Regions from separate parts of the Homo sapiens genome. Here all the other regions are linked to region 2. The links are contacts of gene promoters, found by promoter capture Hi-C in blood cells and fetal thymus (Javierre and others, 2016). All regions are on one chromosome and are shown on one strand. Each heading gives the region's core, a stretch centred on a gene start or on the middle of the fragment in contact. The rest is flanking DNA. Distances are from core to core; before and after follow the strand shown.

The links. The method cuts DNA at HindIII sites, captures the fragments that hold promoters and counts their contacts. A CHiCAGO score of 5 or more calls a contact.
Region 1: a fragment that was not itself captured here is called in contact with the fragment with the promoter of DNAH11 in region 2 in 1 of 17 cell types (activated CD4 T cells); the score reaches 5.7 in activated CD4 T cells.
Region 3: a contact is called between a fragment that was not itself captured here and the fragment with the promoter of DNAH11 in region 2, in 4 of 17 cell types (non-activated CD4 T cells, erythroblasts, fetal thymus and 1 more). The highest score is 6.4, in non-activated CD4 T cells.
Region 4: a fragment that was not itself captured here is called in contact with the fragment with the promoter of DNAH11 in region 2 in 1 of 17 cell types (naive B cells); the score reaches 7.2 in naive B cells.
Region 5: a contact is called between a fragment that was not itself captured here and the fragment with the promoter of DNAH11 in region 2, in 1 of 17 cell types (total CD8 T cells). The highest score is 5.9, in total CD8 T cells.

Annotation. Positions count from the first base shown.
Region 1 is chr7:21,281,057-21,283,756 of GRCh38, forward strand. No RefSeq gene overlaps it. Among named protein-coding and RNA genes, the nearest start is that of SP4, 150 kb to the right of the region's middle. RefSeq lists an enhancer at 57-558. The HindIII fragment of the contact is 219 bases long and covers 1,286-1,504 here.
Region 2 is chr7:21,541,757-21,544,456 of GRCh38, forward strand. It overlaps DNAH11 (dynein axonemal heavy chain 11), which reads left to right and starts at 1,283. Exons shown (of 82, transcript NM_001277115.2): 1 at 1,283-1,840. The coding sequence starts at 1,490. RefSeq lists an enhancer at 605-1,106 and a silencer at 1,155-1,204. The HindIII fragment of the contact is 2,819 bases long and covers 600-2,700 here.
Region 3 is chr7:21,249,114-21,252,002 of GRCh38, forward strand. No RefSeq gene overlaps it. Among named protein-coding and RNA genes, the nearest start is that of SP4, 180 kb to the right of the region's middle. The HindIII fragment of the contact is 1,878 bases long and covers 465-2,342 here.
Region 4 is chr7:22,012,344-22,015,076 of GRCh38, forward strand. No RefSeq gene overlaps it. Among named protein-coding and RNA genes, the nearest start is that of CDCA7L, 68 kb to the left of the region's middle. The HindIII fragment of the contact is 2,006 bases long and covers 451-2,456 here.
Region 5 is chr7:21,229,536-21,232,273 of GRCh38, forward strand. No RefSeq gene overlaps it. Among named protein-coding and RNA genes, the nearest start is that of SP4, 200 kb to the right of the region's middle. The HindIII fragment of the contact is 450 bases long and covers 1,236-1,685 here.

The DNA of each region.
Region 1 (2,700 bases), core at 145-2,644, 260 kb before region 2:
TTGATAATCCTCCTGCACATCCTTCTTTCATTGGCAATCTTCATTCCAATATTAAAGTGGTGTTTCTTCCTACAAACACCACCTCTTTGATCCAATGAATGCATCAAGAACTTATAGCTGCTTTTAAGGCCTACTCCCTGAGTTGGGTCCTTGCCCAGCCTATGGTGAAACTGAGGAAGACACTGAGAAGACACTGATGCAATTCTGGAAGGATTACATCATCTATAGCTATGTTAAGAGCCTTGCTTGGAATAGGGGTAATGTCACCAATTAGTGTTTGAATGGCATCTGGGAGGAGACACTCAACATTCATCAGTTGCTTCAAAGGATTTGCCAAAGATGAGGATATTGCAAAATCAGTGAGGCTGTGGTTGGAGATGGGTGTGGATGAGGATGATATTGGGGCTTTGCTGCAGGTGGCTTCTGAGGAATTAGCTAATGAGGAGTTGTTGGAACTGGAACAGAAACCCACAGCTGAAGAAGAGGCAAGAGACAAGGAAACTGCAAGAGAAGAAAAAAGAAGAACCCCCAAGAAGATTCACAGTGAAGGGTTTAGCAGAAGCTTTTGCAGGCCTCACCAAGCTTCTTAACAGCTTCTTAAAAAGTTTAAAAACATGGATCCCAACTCCAAAGTGTTTTCATTAATAGAGGGTTGCTCATGGTGCATTATCTGCTTGCAAGCAAATCTGTAATGAAAAAATGAAACAAACCAAGCAAATCATCATGGCCATATTTCTGAAAAGAGTGAAACTTCCTCAAGAAGAGCCTCACACGGGTCCCTCATGAGGTAGTCTAGAAGAAGGCATTGTTATCTTAAGACATGACAGCTCCATGCCTGTTATTGCCTGTGAAGACCTTCAAGTTGGACAAGTTGTGAAGGGGGAAGACAGTGATATTGATGATCCTGACCTTGTGTAAGCCTAGACTAATGTGTTCCATCTTGTTTTTAGCAAAAAACGTTTAGAAAGTAAAATAAATGCATTTTAAAAATAGGAGAAAGCATATAGAATAAGGATATAAAGAAAGAAAATATTTTTGTACAGCTGTACAATGTGCTTGTGTTCTCATCTAAGTGTTATTACAAAAGAATAAAAAAATTTAAAAAATTAAAAAGCTTATAAAGTTAAAATGTTATAGTAAGCTAAAGTTAATTTACTGTTAAAGGAAGAAAAATATTTTATACATTTAGGGTAGCCTAAATGTATAGCGTTAATAAAGTTTACAGTCCTTCACATTTACTCACTACTCACTCACTGACTTACCCAGAGCAACTTATGGTCCTGCAAGCTTCATTCATGCTAAGTGGCCTCTTGTACAGGTGTACCATTTTTATCTTTTATGTCATGTTTTGACCGTATCTTTTCTATGTTTAGATACATAAATGTTTACCATTGTGTTACAGTTGCCTACAGTATTCAGTTCAGTAACATGCCGTACAGGTTGGTAACCTAGGAGCAATAGGCTGTGCCATTTTGCGTAGGTGTGTATTAGACCATATGCTGTAAGCTTGTGTAACTACGCTCTATGATGTTCACACACTGATGAAATCACCTAACAACTGACACATTTCTCAGACTATATCCCTGTTGTTAAGCAGGACATGACTGCAAATCCAAGAGAACAAAGGGGAAGCTTGTATGTTTAGTTTGCTGCTATATCTGCACTTCCTGGAAAAATGCTCGGAACACCATGCATACTCTGGAAATCTTTTTCAAATATATGAAAAAAAAAGCCAGAGTTTCAGTCCAAATATCCAAGGTAGTCAGCAATTGCTTCTTCTTTTCAGTTTTAGATTCTCTATAGGCATAAGATATCTGAAACCCTGAGGGTTTTTTTCGATAATCCATGAAAATCTGAGGTAGCATATGATGTCTTTTCTTTGACCCTACATTCACTCTGGTACTAGAATTCTCAACATTGCAAAATTCAACTCTCTTCAAGCATCTGGATCATCACCTGAATTTGAGTCCCTCACTTTTTATCTTTGCCCACCTAGCATTTCATGTTCCCAAAAAGGAATGGCTTGATTGGCTCAGTCAACTATGAAGCAGAGTTCCCATACTAAGGTCCATGCTCTCCAGCCAAAGTCTACCAGGAACAAACCTAGAGCTGGGCAAGCTGAATTACTTGTTCTTGCAAATGGATAATGCATGCCCATAAGGAACTGTGGGGCATCTCAGAGAGTGTTAGAAAGGACATTTATGGCATTTGAATGGGTGTTAGGTAATTTGAGGGAGGGACCAAGGAAGCAGGGCTTTGCTCTGGATTGGATGCTCTCAGGAAGTGCAGGGTAACTCTATGATTGGGTATCTTAAATCATATCTAGAATAAGGGAAGACTAAAAATGAGGCCAAGTCTGTAATTGACAAGCACCCCTCACTCATATTAGCTGGGAGAGGGGAGGTTTGGTATTTTATGGTTTACACAGTGAACCAGTAATGATGAATACAGTGTTTTCATCTGTGCTTAGATAAGAGTATAAAGTTTTTTTTTGTTTTGTTGCTTGTTTGGTGTCACTTCTTCACACTCAAAGAGTGATCCTATCTGATGTTAGAATTCCGAGAGACCTGAGAACAACACGTCTAGCTGTGAATGCCAGGTCACAGAGACACAGCTGTGAGAGTCAGGCCGGTTCCCCATGTTAGGGACTGCTTTTCTTTTTCTCTCCAGCTGCCTCAGAGATGATTGTCACCCCTACCC
Region 2 (2,700 bases), core at 33-2,532:
AATTTTCCTGCTAGATTTGAAAGTGGTTATTCACTTTCAATTTAATTCAACTATTATTTACAGAATTCCCGGTTTTCTAGGTTACAGGGATGTGAAGCTGGAATATAAGAGGGGAGAGAAGGAACTGGTGATTGCCAGCCTTGTATACCAGCAACTGGGAGCCCCAAAGATTATTATGGACAATATAAAGCAGCCTTGACAGGTTAGAAGTCATTATCAAAGTTTTCCAAGGCCCTGTGTTATTTCAAGATTCTGATCACATAACTGGAAACTTGTCGATGGTTTTCAGGGGCAGTTAATATCCTGCAAAGAAAAAAATTGTTGAAGCCTCATCTTCTGGAAATGTCTGTCAACATTCAGGTATTAAATGGATTATTGTGGGCAACAGTCCTTCAGTAGCCCCCATGGAAGGGGTGGGGATTGAAGACTTTAGTTTGAAATAAACAATTAACAAAGGAGACTTAAAAGTTTAGTTGAGGACTCCTCCTCAAAATTCTGGTTGCTTTAATAATTAGAATTTCCATAAGAGTCTCAACGAAAGCCACTAATGGACCGCAGTGAAATCCTATTTCAGTATCATGAAACTGTTTTTAATCTGAAGCTTTTTCTCTTTGACCTTTTTACTCTTGAATTAAATGATAAATCTATAGATTTTCGGAACATTTTGGAGATCACGAAAGGGCACTGTGCGTTCTCTTACTGGGTGTACTGAAGTTCCAGTAAGTTTCAGGTTGAGGATGGCAATCAGGAGGACTTCGAATACTTAGATCTTGGATTCCCACAACTAGGAAAGTTGAATTGCAGGACTGGCTCTCTTCTGGTAATATTTGGACACCTTGGGAAAGGTGAATAACAGCCTTCAACTTGGGCCCCGAAACTTCTCTGTTACTTATTTTTGTAACTTAGTTCCTTGCCCATAAAACAAAGACTGACCAGTCAGAGACTTGGCTTTCTACGGATTATGTCAACTAGTCAAGGTAAGAGATTAGCACGGACCTTGGCACAAGAGAGCATTGCTTCATCCAGAGCACTTAACCAATGCTGGGATCTCCACCAAGTGTCCAGTAGGCGAAGGAGCCGGAGGGCAGTGGAGCGAGCGCACTGGGGGCTCAGACCCACCCCGGACACGCGGCTTCTCGGCCGTGTTCGGGACCTAGAGCCCGAGGGCCTCTCCCCTCGGCCTTGGCCTTGGCGTATACTGGGCGGTGGCGCGGTGCGCTCACTCCGCCCCCAGCGGGCTGGGGCGGGGACACCGTCCCCCGGGAAACGGGACGCGCTGCTTGTCCCAGGCCTTCGCTTCGGCCTGCGAGGCTACAGCTGTGCGCAGTGGCGCGGCTGCTAAGTAGCAGCAGGTGGGAGACTAGGGTCTGCGCTCGCGGCGACCGCGGAGGAGGGTGGGCGCCTGCGGAGGTGTCCTCGCTCACTTCGGGGGGCCCAGAGTCTCGGGTGAGGAGCCAGCCGGCCTCGCGTTCCCTCGGACGGTTGCCCAATGGCAGCCCAGGTGGCAGCCCGGGAGGCGCGAGACTTCAGAGAAGCCCCGACCCTTCGCCTAACCTCGGGGGCCGGCCTGGAGGCAGTGGGCGCTGTGGAGCTCGAGGAGGAGGAGGAGAACGAGGAGGAGGCGGCGGCCAGGAGAGCGCGGAGTTTCGCCCAAGACGCGCGGGTGCGCTTCCTCGGCGGCCGCCTGGCGATGATGCTGGGGTTCACGGAGGAGAAATGGAGCCAGTATTTGGAAAGCGAGGACAACCGGCAGGTTCTTGGGGAGTTTCTGGAAAGCACCAGCCCGGCTTGCCTTGTGTTTAGCTTCGCCGCCTCGGGGCGCCTTGCGGCTTCCCAGGAGGTAAGAGGCGACGGGCAAGGGGACCTGCCCATCCAACAAAACTACCCAGGGGAGACAGCCCAGTCGCTCCCCTTTGGATTCCCGCGGGGCGCTCACTCGGGCACTTTAACAAACTTGGCTTGAAGTCCCCATCCTGAGGCCCGCAGGACTCCTCCCCACGTGCACCCACTCTGCAGTTCAGCAGCTGCAGGTTAGTTTCCTAAGTCAGCAGTTTGTATCTGACCGAGAATCCCGCGTTGAGCCTGTTCGACCAGGATAACCCAAGAACACCAGCGCTTTCTTTAGCTGCTTGGGTGTTAGGCGCCAGGTGGGCTTTCTGTGCCAAAAAACTTGCGTTTCAGTTGCTCTTGGGTCACTCTGGAGTCACATCCTTTAAAAAATGGGGTGTTTGGCAGAGCGCATGTAACTCGTCACGTATTTTGATTACGTGCCAACAACACTTCACCCCAGGCAAAAACATTAAGTCCTTAAAAAGGAAGGCCCCTGCAATCTCCGCACACATGGGTGTTTACTGAACATTTAGAGGGAACAGTTCCCTCCTTTCTTCTTTTTCTTCCTTTTCTTTTTGAATTTCGATGATTTGTCCACTAAAAGGTTAACGTATCACCTAACGTACAGCACTTGTATTTAGTATTTTTCAAGTATGATGAGTTTGGAGCAAGATTCACAATTTTTAAGTAGCGCAATGCTCAGTTTAACATGTTATGTCGTTTTATCACTAGGTGTGGTCATTGTAATAGTTGGGAAATAGGATCTCAGAGAAGAAAGAGTAATAGGAAGGCTGCCTTATGGTATTGTGAATTTTGAATTCTTTTGTTTTAGGACTCTCCTAATTGTAACTTTAAAAAAAATAAGTTTGT
Region 3 (2,889 bases), core at 154-2,653, 290 kb before region 2:
TCTGTGATTACATATCAATGTGAAGTTCAAGAATATTAAAAACTGATCTAATGTGACAGAAGTTAGTAGAGTGACTCGCTCTGGAGGAGTGAACAGGGGCAGGAGGGACCTTTCCCAGGCAATGAAAATATTGATGTGGGTAGTAGTCAAAAGGGTGTATCCATATGCAAAAACTCATTGAGCTATACATGTAAAATTTGGTCATTTACTCTATATTAATTCTACTGCAATAGAAAGGCATCTGGGAGCAAATATACATATATACATACGTATGCCTATCTTCTCCGATATATATCCAACCATGTATTCATAATTCCTCACTTAGTTTCTAAAGGTTAGTGAGAATTTACCACCCCATTTCACAGACAGATTAAGTAAGGCAGAGAGAGAAATCTATAGCATGTTACTGGTTTTCTAGTTCTCAGTGTTCTTCAGAACTTTATACTAATCGCAGAAACAATAAAAGCTTTTTTGCCTTAGGCCAGACACGTTTGTAAAAAGGCAAAACTCGGTATAAAATGTGTCTCCCCAAACCATAAATTATATTCTTTTCAACAGCGTGTGATTTTATATACCACATTCAGGACAACTCTAAAGGGATCATTGTTTTTTCAGCAAAACTGCTTTATTTGCTAATATTCAGCTCATCCGTACTTTCTTCATCTTGGTCTGTGATAATGTGTCCCCTCATTTCTTTGTAAGATAATGGAAGATAATTCCCTAAGAATCCCATTTGCTATCTCTCTCCATTGGTAAGGTCACTTAATTTAGTGTCTTCATTAAGTACCACTCAAAGTTTAATAATTGTGCTGGCACCAGTGTCCCCTCACTCCTCTCCCAATGTATTTTGTGTCATCTATGCTTGTTACAACTCATCCCCCTTCATCTGCCCATAAACTGCAGTCATGATATTTCATGATATTATGAACACTATGTAATTTACAAATGGCCTCGCATACCTAAAGGACTGTTTAGAAAGAAAGAATAAATTGTTGCAGAGAAAGCTAGAGAAACAAGTGGAATCGCGAAGTTTCATTAGAGACAGCTCAAAGGAAGAGATTTTTACAGTGGTAGTTTCTTATTCTTAGACAAGGAGCAGACACTTGCAGGGGGGAAATAAAACAGGCAGCTATTTTGTGTTCCTAATTAAATTGTTTGCCACCAGTGGCAAAACAGAATCTGCCGCTATTAAACAGGCCACATCAAGGTAATCAACACTGGCTTACTAAATCTATTTCAGTGCAAGAGAGAACTGCAAACCTAAACAAACAAACAAGCAAAAAAATACATTGCATACCTTTGAAGTACTTTTTGTATATGAGAAGCCTGCCTCGAATGTTGAAAAAAGCAAAAGCCTCGAATTCACAGGAAGCAACATTTTTAACCTGCCCCACTGTATCCAGGTGTCAGGGAGATTCTGAATAGTCGGTAATTCTCAAAGCTACAGAACAGGAGTCTGCTTTTTCTCCCACACCTTGATGCACAGTTCCTATTAAATGTAGCTGGAGTTACAAACCATAGGAGAAAAAAATGCATCTGTCTCCTCTGCAACATTAGAATTGTGAACTGAATATTCTCACTGCCTGGGGTTTCATAGAAAACATCTGAATTATCTTTCAATGTACTGGAAAAATAAACATTAACTGCACACTTGTCCTTCTCATTTTCTGCTTTGGGATCATGCAATGCTAGTGTTAGTTAAAATATTTTTTAAATTATAACTCTCAAAGTGTTAGGACTCTTGCAATTGTACCACATCGTTGAACGTTTCCCTGGTAAAGACGTTATTCTTTAAACTGTGGTTTTCTGTTCACATCACAAATGAGAAATAGTGAAGAGATAATGCGAGGTTTAACTAGTATTTAGACATTTCTACTTTAAGACACATTTAGGTGCTTTAAGAGATAAACAGTTCCCCAGCCCACCCCACATGCGCCCCCACCCCTGCCCTGCCTCCCGGCACCCCCATGAAAACTGCAGAGTCAAGTAGTAGGGGGAAAATATAGTTCCCTACAAGGGTTTACTTCCTAATGCTGCTGCCTGATTTTAGTTCCCAGACAAGTGACAAGCCAAAACAAAAAGATAAATAAAAATCAAACACATATACAACAACAAAAACAACCCCTCACATTAACATAGGGGCCTCCTGGTGCTGGAAGCTGAAACTCCTCACAGGATCTTCTATACGCAAAAATCTGGTCTTATTTTTCTTTAACATAAGGAGAGAGTAAGATAGGGCTGAGAAATGTGATCTCTGCTGGCAGAAAAGAGAATAGAATCAGCTACTTTTATGAACACATTTAAAGCCTGTGTCATAACTTCAGAAACCTTGATGTGATTGAAGCTTAGTAAATTTCAGGAGATCTGCTTTAAAATGGTTTTGTACTATTCTTTGAGAAGTCACTTTGTTTTGCCAGCTCTGGATGCTAATAGGGACTGGTATTTTTTCCTGGCTGTGTCAATGACATCACACAAGTTGCACTCCACGATGACAAACATAGAGGAACAAAGTCCACAGAGGCATGGGCAGCAGCGATCAGGGAAAATGCCATCATGCAAAGCTCTCTCTGGTTAGATAGCTTGCATTTTCTGAGTGTTGGTTGCTTACTTGTTCTTAAAGATATACATCTTTCTTTAAGAAATTAAAGAAATGTTAATCTGGAAATCAACATAGGGTCTTTTCTTCATTGTATGAGAAACATCATTGTAAATATCACTTCTCTCTGCATTCATGAAATGCTGATTATTAAGAATATATATCATAATCCACAAAAATCTAGACACTGATCTTTGTTAGCTATTTCACATATAAGATAATATGTTCATAAAGATGTATACAGATAATTTAATGTAGAATTTAATAATCAGCCCAGTTTATGTGCCACTGAA
Region 4 (2,733 bases), core at 204-2,703, 470 kb after region 2:
GTGACTCTGTGGTGTTAGAGAACTGGATTCCTGGATACACCATCCTTTAGGACATTTTCATCTCATCTGAGTCTACCTGTCAACATTCCAGCAAGTAGGAAAGAGAAAAAGGACAAGGAGAGGACATGGGCACATTATTTCCTTTTAAGGACATGAACTGGATGTTGTACACATCACTTCCACTTGTATTTCTTCTGCCAGAACCTAGTCATATGGCCACATAGAGCAGTGAAGCTTGGAAATATGGTTTTTATTATTTGGGGCCGTGTAGCCAGCTAAAATTTAGAAGTACAGTTAGTAACAGAAGAAGGAGAAATATATTTTAAGAAACAAATAGCAATCTCTGCTCTGGGTATAAAGTTTGGCCTTCAACTGTGGAAGTTCAGAGGGCTCTGACCTTTACAAAGTCCCAGAATTGATCACTGTTAGGGAGGCTGACTCACATTAAAAAGCTTACAAGAGAGTGATGTATAAAATAAGAATGCAATAAAAATTATTATAAAAAATATTACTTCCAAAGAGACTGGATGGAAGGGTTGTTAGTACAATTGTTCCACGTTATATCATAAGCAGCATGGGGGGGCCAAATTACCAGGCGGTTGCATGGTAAGCAAAGAATGAGAAGCTCTGAGTACATAATGGCGTGTCTCTGCTGGCCCGCTCTTCCATCCTCGCACTAGATGGGCAATCACACTGGTTTCTGTCTTGGGCAGTGCTCCAACGGACCCTGCCAGACATTGTCTTCAAACTCTTCCTGGGTTGTGTCCTCTTTGTTGACCTCTCTCCTTTTTGATCAACAGCTTATTTATTTAGATGTGTTAATAACCCACCAGGTTTAATACCTTCATACTCAACCCTGAAGTCCTTTCTGCCTCTCTGTCTCTCTGCTCTGATCCACATGTATTTGTTCATGGTTTTGCGCCTATTTACCATGTCACTTCTATACTACTACGAGATTTTAGTTATCATTTCATGTAGTTGTAGCCCCTTTAGGATGACACCCTCACCTCACACCGCCTGGTGCTGAAGCTCTTCAATCGTGTCCCACCATGGCACTCCCAAATCGTGGTGATGATGACCGCAAGATGACAAGGCCTCTGTTGCCACAACTTTATGGTGTATCTACCACCTGAGCAAGAGGTGGTCACAAGTGCACTCACAAAAGTGGAGTCGGTGCCAAGAATGAAAAGTAAATGGAGATTTAAGGACACAGCATAGTTAATAAATTAAAATACAGAACTGTAGCTTTTGCACTTTGCAGTTATAGTAGGAAAGAATGAAAACGTATCATGTATTTTTAAAAACCTTAATGTGACCTTGCTGCATTTCCTCCATGTTGCAATAAGACTCCCAAACTGAGTTAGTTTCCCGCAGTAGCTCTGTGTGTGTGTGTGTGTGTGTGTGTGTGTGTTTTCCTACACACGCACACAAGTGCATACTATAACATAGCATTCTCCTGCTTCACTTCTGGCTTTAGTGGATGATGTGGGAACGCATGACTGGCTTGGTGAAATTGGGTACTTAGCAATGCTAAGACCAGATGCCCACTAAACACAATGCCAAAGAAAAATGTTGGCACCTTGTTCTTTTGGAGAGGTGACTGAATCTGATGATTCCCTGACAAGCTGGTTTGAGTCTGGGCGAAGTCACAGTCCATAAGCACTCTGAACCTAGCATACCAGGCAGAAGCTATTAAATATGAATAGTTAGAATTTGCAGCTTAGCCATTTCTGTGCCATAAAGCACACAGAATCTCCCTTTTAGGTGAAATATGTAGCTGAGATCAGCCTCTCCAAGGAAATGGGAATGGAAGTTTTTATGGGGAGAAGAAAGGGGAATTTTTAAAGTCACAAGCACTGGAAATGTTTAGGGGGTGAGGAAGAAGGGATGACTGAGAGCCCTGGAGCAGATGTGGAAGGGGTGCCCAGGGAGTCAGACAAAAGGGAAGCCAAGGAAACTATACACTCAGAAGGGTGCTGGAGCATGACCCCAGGAAGGCAGGGGCAAAGGGTAGTATTGGCCAGAAGGGGCAGTTGGATCAGGTGAACCCGCTATTATCCCTCCCTAGCATCCAGCTTTGTAGGATGGGGCTTTTTGGCAAGGACACACATCAAAGCTATGTGATGAGCAGTGGGAGGGCTGTTGGTACTGAAGGTGTTCTAATGGAAGAATTTGACAACCTAGGACAAATGGGGGTTGCTGCATGGATCCAAGTGCAAGAAAGGGGATGTTTGCTGCACCCACATGGGAGGTAAAGGGATAATGGAGACTCAGGGCAAGGGGATTCTTGGACACTCATGGAAAGTGGGCTTTTCTGGGCTGAAAGGTTCAGTCAAGAAAAGTGTACGGCCTCCTCTGGACCTGACTGTATACATATCTCACCACTAGGAGGGTAGGCCTATTTTGTGATGGACTGGACCTGCCGAGGTTTCCAGGAATTCAGAGTCCTAAGGGCAAGCTTATGATGTCTTTTGGTTTATTTAGTCAGTTGGTTGGTTGGCTTTTGTGGTTGTTTTGGTTAAAAAAAAAAAAAGACTTTTTTTGCAACATGTTGAGAAGCAGAAAGGAAGCAGTTAGGAAAGAGCAGTTGAAGAAGCTGTGGAAGAAGCAAATATGTGGGAGGAAGGTTACTCAGGAAACAGGAAAGTATAGGATTGAGGATGGAGGATGAAGGGAAGACAATGTGCTGATGGATGTGATACACATTGTCAGGGTGGTCTCTTGCTCCATGTA
Region 5 (2,738 bases), core at 211-2,710, 310 kb before region 2:
TACTGAAATAATCTGTAAATTCATATGTGTACTGTGGAGGATGCACTTCAGATACTCTCCCAGAAGCAGAGTTAAAAATGCGGAGGTAAAAGAGATGAGAAAAAATATGAAAGACAGATTTGACAGCAGACATAAATAATTTTCCAAAGCCAGAAACCAGAGTAATAATGAATGAAGCAATAGTAAAGGATATAATAGAAGAAGGAAAGTTTCTGGAAGAAAAATCATGACTTGAAATGACTCACCTGGATCCAGGCAAAATTAATTAAAAGGACCTACATTTAAATTAACAGTCATATTTTTCAAAACTTAAATTCAAGAACAAAGGGGGATAATATAATTATAAATCAGAAAGAAACAACAATCAGAGTGTCCCAATTTCACTTTTTCAACACTAATTGAAAAAAAAACTAAAGTGTGAAAGCTACAGAATTCACGACTGCAAAAATGTGAAACCAGCTCAAATGCTCATCAATCAACAAGTGGATAAAGAAAATGTGGTATATATAGGCCGGGCATGGTGGCTCACGCCTGTAATCCCGGCACTTTGAGAGGCCGAGGTGGGTGGATCACCTGAGGTCAGGAGTTCGAGACCAGCCTCAAAATGGAGAAACCCCTTCTCTACTAAAAATACAAAATAAGCTGGGCGTGGTGGTGCATGCCTGTGATCCCAGCTACTCGGGAGGGTGAGACAGGAGAATTGCTTGAACCTGGGAGGCAGAGGTTGCGGTGAGCTGAGATCGTGCCATTGCACTCCAGCCTAGGCAGTAAGAGTGAAACTCCGTCTCAAAAAAAAAAAAAAAAAGAAAAAGAAAAAAGAAAAAGTGGTATATATATACAATGGAATACTACTCAGCCATAAAAAGGAATGAATTAATGGCATTGGCAGTCACCTGGATGAGATTGGAGACTATTATTCTAAGTGAAGTTACTCAGGAATGGAAAACCAAACATCATATGTTCTCATTCTTTTAGTGAGAGCTAAGCTATGAGGATGCAAAGGCATAAGAATAACACAGTGGACTTTGGTGATTCCAAGGGAAAGTGTGGGAAGGGGGTGAGGAAAAAAAGACGACAAATAGGGTGCAGTGTATACTGCTCGGGTGATGGGTGCACCAAAATCTCACAAATCACCACTAAAGAACTTACTCATGTAACCAAACACCACCTGTTCTCCAATAACCTATGGAAATATATTTTTTTTTAAAGGGTGAAAGCTATAGAATGTTTTTAAAAGCTTGAGAAACAACAGTTCCACATAAAATCTGGATATTAACGCCTGTCCCAAGAGTTTCAGTCAGGCAAGGATTTAAAGCATAAATCACTGTGTGTCCTTTCTAAAAAGAGTGGATCTTGGTCATTGTTTTTTGTTTTTATGAGACCCAGCTCGCTCTGTCGCCAGGATGGAGTGCAGTGGCGCGATCCCTGCTCACTGCAACCTCCGCCTCCCGGTGTTTGTTACTACCTCAAGAATTAAAGAAATTTTTTAACTAATTCAATAAATATTTATTGAGTTAAAGAAGTAAAGAAATACAGGTCTCAGAATACGATAAATTTAATATACCCAGACTACTATACAGTTTATTCAAGATTTTCCCACTCCCAATAATTATAAAAGCCACTAATAGAGGAATAATTGTATAAATATCAGAAAACAGAAAACAAAGACAGCACTTTTATCAAGAAGCTTAAACAACTTACCACCTTTCCATATCCCATCACCCTCAGTCTCATGGAAAGACAATTTGGTTAAAGAAACCAAAAACAGCATGTGGTCCTTACAGACAACCATAATATAGAAAGGAATTTTTTCTTTATTTTGTTTTGTTTTGTTTTTAGGTACATAAATTCAAATTTTTAAATATAACTACTGTGGTAGATTGAAGATGCCCACAAATTCTTTGCCATTTCTCTCCCACCAAGAGGTGGAGTCTATTTCCCCAGTCCTTCTCCAACTGGACTCAAGTTATGACTTGTTATGACTTGCTTTTTTTTTTTTTTTTTTTTTTGAGACAGGGTCTCACTTTGTTCCCCAGGCTTGAGTGCAGTGGTGCCATCTTGGCTCACTGTAGCCTTGACCTCCGGGGTCCAAGCGATCCACATGCCTCAGCCCCCCAAGTAGCTGGGACTACAGGCATACACCAGCATACCTGGCTAATTTTTTTTGTATTTTTTGTAGAGAGAGGGTTTCACTGTGTTGGCCAGGCTGGTCTCAAACTCTTGGCCTCAAGTGATCCACCTGCTTCAGCCTCCCAAAGTGCTGGGATTACAGGCGTGAGCCACCACACCTGGCCAATTTATGACTTGCTTTTGACTGAAAAAAGGCAGCAGATGTTGGTCAAAGGATACAAAATTTCAGTTAGATAGTAGGAATAAGTTCAAGAGCTCCATTATACAATATTGTGACTATGGTTAATAACAATATATCCTATTCTTGAACATTGCTAAGAGCAGATATTAGATGTTCTCACCACACACAAAAAAAGTATGTAAGGTAATGCATATCTTTTTTATATATATATATATATTTTAAGTTCTAGGGTACATGTGCGCAATGTGCAAATTTGTTACATACGTATACATGTGCCATGTTGGTGTGCTGCACCCATTAACTCGTCGTTTACATTAGGTATATCTCCTAATGCTATCCCTCCCCTCTCTCCTCACCCCACAACAGTCCCCGGTGTGTGATGTTCCCCTTCCTGTGTCCAAGTGTTCTCATTGTTCAATTCCCACCT